2 separate regions of the Homo sapiens genome follow, and region 1 is linked to region 2. The links are contacts of gene promoters, found by promoter capture Hi-C in human tissues and cell types (Jung and others, 2019). All regions are on one chromosome and are shown on one strand. Each heading gives the region's core, a stretch centred on a gene start or on the middle of the fragment in contact. The rest is flanking DNA. Distances are from core to core; before and after follow the strand shown. Region 1 has its middle 8.5 kb from the start of LINC01549. Region 2 holds the start of BTG3 (BTG anti-proliferation factor 3).

Evidence for each region. Contacts are between HindIII fragments. The study calls those that stand out against the background at their distance.
Region 1: a fragment that was not itself captured here is called in contact with the fragment with the promoter of BTG3 in region 2 in 1 of the 25 tissues and cell types used here (dorsolateral prefrontal cortex).

The regions. Positions count from the first base shown.
Region 1 is chr21:17,428,934-17,431,859 of GRCh38, forward strand. It overlaps the pseudogene RNU6-113P. Among named protein-coding and RNA genes, the nearest start is that of LINC01549, 8.5 kb to the right of the region's middle. The HindIII fragment of the contact is 3,348 bases long and covers 1-2,926 here.
Region 2 is chr21:17,611,463-17,614,274 of GRCh38, forward strand. It overlaps BTG3 (BTG anti-proliferation factor 3), which reads right to left and starts at 1,439. Exons shown (of 5, transcript NM_006806.5): 1 at 1,237-1,439. BTG3-AS1 (BTG3 antisense RNA 1) reads left to right here and starts at 224. Exons shown (of 1, transcript NR_149073.1): 1 at 224-2,652. It also overlaps a transcript of CXADR not described here. The HindIII fragment of the contact is 18,267 bases long and covers 1-2,812 here.

The DNA of each region.
Region 1 (2,926 bases), core at 117-2,616, 180 kb before region 2:
TGATGACGCTTTAAAATAAAATTTAAAATAATTCACCTGTAAGAAGATACTTGAAGACTCTGTGAACATTTTGTTTAGCTGATAAACACAATCATTACATATCACTCAATTCTTTCTTTCATTCTCCACCTGAGCCCAACTGTCCACTTCTATCCAAACCTTTCAGTGACATAAGGACTTATAGCACCTGTAGTTATCCTCCTGTGGTTAATCATTCCCCCATTCCTACAGACTATCAAATTGACATTTGCAGGGACCGTATCTTAATCACAACCTCTAGAACAGTGTTGTTCTCATATAGGCACGCTTGGAGAATTTATGAATGAATGTGACTTGGCAGCCACCTCTTATGCCGGCGCCTATGCACCTACAGAGACTTCGTGAAGCCCTGGCACATTGTTTTTAATTGTTAAATTTCTCAGTTATGGGTATAATAGAGGCATTAAAGAGCATATAAGATTGTCTTCTCATTATGGATACAGACTTTCATTCAGGTAATCCTATTACACACTTTACCTTTGCATCTGTCTAGTGCAGCCATTAGTTGGCCACAAAATCTGAAATAAATATTTCATATTAAATTTAAAAATTGGCTGGGCCGTGGTGGCTCACGCCTGTAATCCCAGCACTTTGGGAGGCCAAGGTGGGCAGATCACGAGGTCAAGAAACAAGACCATCCTGGCTAACATGGTGAATACCCTGTCTCTAATAAAAATATAAAAAATTAGCTGGGCGTGGTGGCACGTGCCTGTAGTCCCAGCCACTCGGGAGGCTGAGGCAGGAGAATCACTTGAATCTGAGAGGTGGTGGTTGCAGTGAGCAGAGATCACGCCGCTGCCTCCAGCCTGGGCGACAGAGGGAGACTCCGTCTCAAAAAAAAAAAAATTAAAAACTATGATGTGCAGATATTTTCCCCTAGTATGAAAGCTTAAGTTATTAAATCTGTAGAAAGGCTGAAGAACTTAATGAGGATGTTTTATGTTAATAGGATAAATTTAATTGTTAAGATGTTAAGGTGGTGTGTTAAGGTGACAAAGGGGAAGTGGAAGGAAAGAGAACTAACATTACTGGGCACGTACTACATGCCAGTATCTGCTTCAGGTGCTTTAAAAACATTCTCCCAGTCCCCACCCAACTCTGGGACACACGCTCCATTATGCTCACTGCAGGGTGTGGATGGAAAATGAAAGGGTTAGTTCTACCCAGAAGCACCTGCCTAAGATGCCCTGTGCCCCATCCCTTGGGCCCACCTGACATTAGTGGCACTAATGTGAACAGCGGCATGCATGCTGCAAGTGCCCCACCTTCAGTGGGTGCTGTGGTGTCCCTTGGGGACACCCAAGCAGGCCACAGCCTGGAAGTGCAGGAGAGTTAGTAAGTAACAGTGGATGGAAGTCAGCAGATTAATGCCCCAGCCTCCTTGTCCTTCAGTGGAACAATGCTGAAGCACAGTCTATGAAGTTCCACAGCTGATCCCGAGTGTAAGTGGGCCTTATTTTTCCATAATGGTTTCCAACTGAGTAGCACACACTTTATAGGCTTTCTCACTTCCTTGTCTCTCTCTTCTCACACCTCACTTCTGCTTCCTGGGATCAATATCATCAGTCAATAGGTAAATGCAGATAGACTACCTGCATCCAAGTCCCTTGCCTTAGACTCTACTTTGCAAGAACCCAAGCTAAGACATACAACAATATTAGTCAGTCTCCTCCTTCTTTAATAATGAAACCCCCAGCCAGGCGTGGTGGCTCGCTCTTGTAATCCTAGCACTTTGGGAGGCCAAGGCAGGCAGATCACCTGAGGTCAGGAGTTCGAGACCAGTCTGGCCAACATGGTGAAACCCCGTCTCTACTAAAAATACAAAAATTAGCTGGGTGTGGTGGTGGGCTCCTGTAATCCCAGCTACTCAGGAGGCCGAGGCAGGAGAATCGCTTTAACCCAGGAGGTGGAGGTTGCAGTGAGCGGAGATTGCGCCACTGCACTCCAGGCTGGGCAACAGAGTGAAACTCCATCTCAAAATAAAATAAAATAAAATTTAAAAATATTGAAACCCCCAGGTTTTAGCTGTGCCCAGGACCATTGAGTTATAGATTATATTATCCCAGCATCTTTGCAACCAGATAAGACCATGTAACTTTTTGCCAATAGGATATAAGTGCTTTTATTTAACAAGCTTTGCCTTTAAAAGAAATAAGGGTGTATTTTCTTGTTCCTTTGACCATTCCTGCTGTCTGGGATGTAGATGTAATGGCAGGAGCTAGAACAGCCCTCACAGATCCAGAGATAGAAGCCATATTTTGAGGATGGGCTGAGCTGTCCATCCTACCCTACCCTGTTCTGCTTCACTGAGGACTATTTCAGGAGAGAAAAACAAATGTCTCTCTTCCTTTTTTTTTTTTTTTTTTTTTTTTTGGGAGACGGAGTCTCGTTCTGTCACCCAGGCTGGAGTGCAGTGGCAGGATCTTGGCTCACTGCAACCTCCGCCTCCCGGTTCAAGCAATTTCTCTGCCCTCAGCCTCCTAAGCAGCTGGGATTACAGGCGCCTGCCACCACGCCCAGCTAATTTTAACATCTCTCTTCTTAAGCCACAGTATTGTAGGGATCTCTCTACTAATGTAGCATGGCACACATATATGGAAATTGGAACAGTGCAGAGATTAGCGTGGCTCCTGTGCAAGGATGACACACAAATTTGTGATGTGTTCCATACTTTTAACATAGTTAGAAAGAATGAATAAGATCCAGTGTTTGATAGCACAGCAGGGTGAATATAGTAAATAATAATTTAATTGTACACTTAAAAAATCACTAAAAGAGTATAATTAGTCTGTTTGTAACACAAAGGATAAATGCTGGAGGGAATGGAGGCCCCGTATTCCATGATGTGATTATTACACACTGCATGCCTGTATCAAAACATCTCATG
Region 2 (2,812 bases), core at 189-2,688:
TCATTTGGACTTTTGTTTTCCCCGTTTGAAGAAATGATAGCTCGAACAGCTGAAAAATAAGCCCACTCCCACCAGTATTCTAGGAGTACCAAAAGGTGAAAGAGGGAGAGTTACAGTCAGGGCAAGAACCACCAGAGGCAAGCAGGGCCAAGAAGACCTCAGGCGTCTTGAGTAAGTAGGCGTCCTCCACCCACACTCAGAGCAAAAGGCTCCCATTTTAAATATCGCACGGTGACGTCATCCTGGGACCTCGTCACCGCGGCGGCTGCTCCTCAAGTTCTACTTTGTTCCACAAGGCTCCTCTGCTCACGGCTGCGTGGATAAAACCCAAAGGGAATCCAGAATCAAGCTCGGCCTCGCAGGAGTTTATAACTTTTGTACTTTTCCCTCCCTTGTAACGAAAAGCTAATCGCAAACGTTTCTAGGAACACATTTTTCTCCTGATAGACGTTCCCAAGGTGGAGGGCGCGAGAAGACTGGCCCGTGGGGTGAGGAGCCCCGGCCCGACCTCAGCGGCGCCACAAAGCCATGAAGAGGGGAAATAATTTTCCAAGGGGCTAAGAGTTGGACTTTCTGAAGCCATCGAAACCTGCTGCTAGGCTCTCCCGCTGGGGTTTTGAGAGAGGTAGGTGAGGAGGGATCAAACATCTCCACCCGCTCTTGAAAGAACCGCCTTGAGCTGCGCCCAACTTCTGCAATCCCGGTTTTCCCCAAGTTCAAGGGGAAGGGCCCTGGCGCCCAATGCCCAGCCTCCCCGACAACATCCTCGCCAGGGTGCGCCTGCCCCGCGGGTCCGCTGTCCCCGGCGGGCGGCCCTGGGTTCGAGGACCCGGCTTCCCGGAGGCGCGACTCTCCAGCAAACAAGCGGAGCTCCAGAAAAAACACCGACGCGAAGGGGGTGGACAGAGGGTGGGAAGCCGCGGGGTTGTCGCCCACCCGGAGGCGGAATGTAACGCGCTGTGGGAAACGTGGCAGGAGCCCTGAGGCGGCGTCTTTTTCCTCAGGCGCCCGCCGAGGGTCCCGCGGAAAGCCTCGCGGGCCGCCCTCGCGGCCCGCAGCCCCGCTCTGGCGCCGAGCCGGAGCCCATGCAACCTGGTTCCATCCCCTGCCCCTCCCCTGTCCCCGGTGCGCCGCCCGCCAGCGAGCCTTCGACGTGGCCGCAGGGGCGACGGGACCACCCTCCCCCGATACCCACAGCCCCGCCATGTCTGCCTTTCCCCGGCCCGGTCTCCTCACCGCCGCTGCCGCCGCCGCTCTTCGGCCGGAGATTCGGCGGCCCAGACCGTGTCCTGGCCGGGAACTGAGGGCTCCGCCTCAACGGGCCCGCGCTGGGCAACAGGGAGCGCAGCGAGCCTCGTCCGGCGCGTGCGGCTCCCGCGTCGTCGGGCGGCCAAGCGCGCGTTGAGAGGACTGGCGGGCGGACGAGCGCGCACACGAGTGAGCGCAGCCCCAAAGCGGCGCGCAGGGGGCTCGCGGCCCGGAAGAGGGGAGGGGCGATGACCCGGGAAAGGGTTGGCGCGCGCGGGATCGGCTCGCGCGCCTGAGGGGCGGTGCCGGGGGCGGGGCTTCGCCGCGAGGCCACCCCCGAGCCCCGGGCCTAGCCGCACGGGAGGCGACACACCCTCGCCCTACCCTGAGCCTGGCGCAGACCCTCGACCGCGACGGCGCGGTCCGCAGAACCGCGGGCTTCCCTCCCCGGCAAAAAGCGGCGCTGAAGGCCTGTGGGACCCCCGCCCGGCCGCCCTACGTGCGTCAGCGCCTTCGGGGGTCGCGCGGGCTTGGTCCTTTCGGCTGTCTCGGCCTTTTTGTTTCCCCCTCAGGTCTCTCCACGCTGCACTTGACACCCTCAGGGCGGAATGGCGAGTTCTAGACCCAGCTCTCTAGACCCGGGGCTTCATGGGGGACACGGACTCGACGGGAAGGGGAACTTGGCATTTATGGACAGATCCTCATCCTTCTTGCTGTAGTCAATTACACGCACGTTAACCGTGCAGCCGCCCTGCTGTATTTTAGGCGGTTGTTGGCACTCCTAGTTGGGCCCTTCCCTGGCCCCTCACAGCAGGGCCTGCCTCCTGTGGACGCTTGTGTGCTGCCCTGGCACCGGCCACTGTGTTTTGCATAAAGGAGAGGCTCCAAAGATGTTGGCCAAAGGAATGAAGCCTTGAGAGTCCAGGCTTTCTATTTCTGAGACACTCTACTCAAGGACTTCCCAGATGCAAAGCTTCATCTTTGAGCAAATACAAATATGGAGAGGGAACATTAACTTTCTGAAGAAAAGAAGGAACATCTTTTCAACCTTTTATATTGAGTTAACACCATGGTCTTAGTTTTGTGAAAGCACTTTAATACATCCAACTAGCGGGAGGAATACAAGATATTCCTACCTTTTTATTATTATTATTAAAAGAGGGCTAAACCATGTTGTAAACTACTTAAGAACTGAATGTTCAAGTTGTACAGTATATTGGCCAGATTCCTTACTGCCCACTAGGCTTGGGAGCATGTTTTCAGCTCAGTTTTATGAATGTTTTAAATTTGTATTACTGATCTTTGTTATAGCCAATTAGCAATTCAAAATGGTAATTTTTTTAGCAGTAATAAATATACCATCCCCCAAACAGTACAATAAACTTTATTTGTAAAAAAAAAAAATTATACTCTTCTAGGACTTAGTCTACTTACTGGTACATTTAAAGAGGATATTTACACCTTGGAGTCTTCTAGGAGGTGTGAAGGTGTTTTTATTTTAAAATCATAACAATCTGATGAGGTTATTTTTACAGATAAAGGCCTTTAATTCTGCAGTTTCATA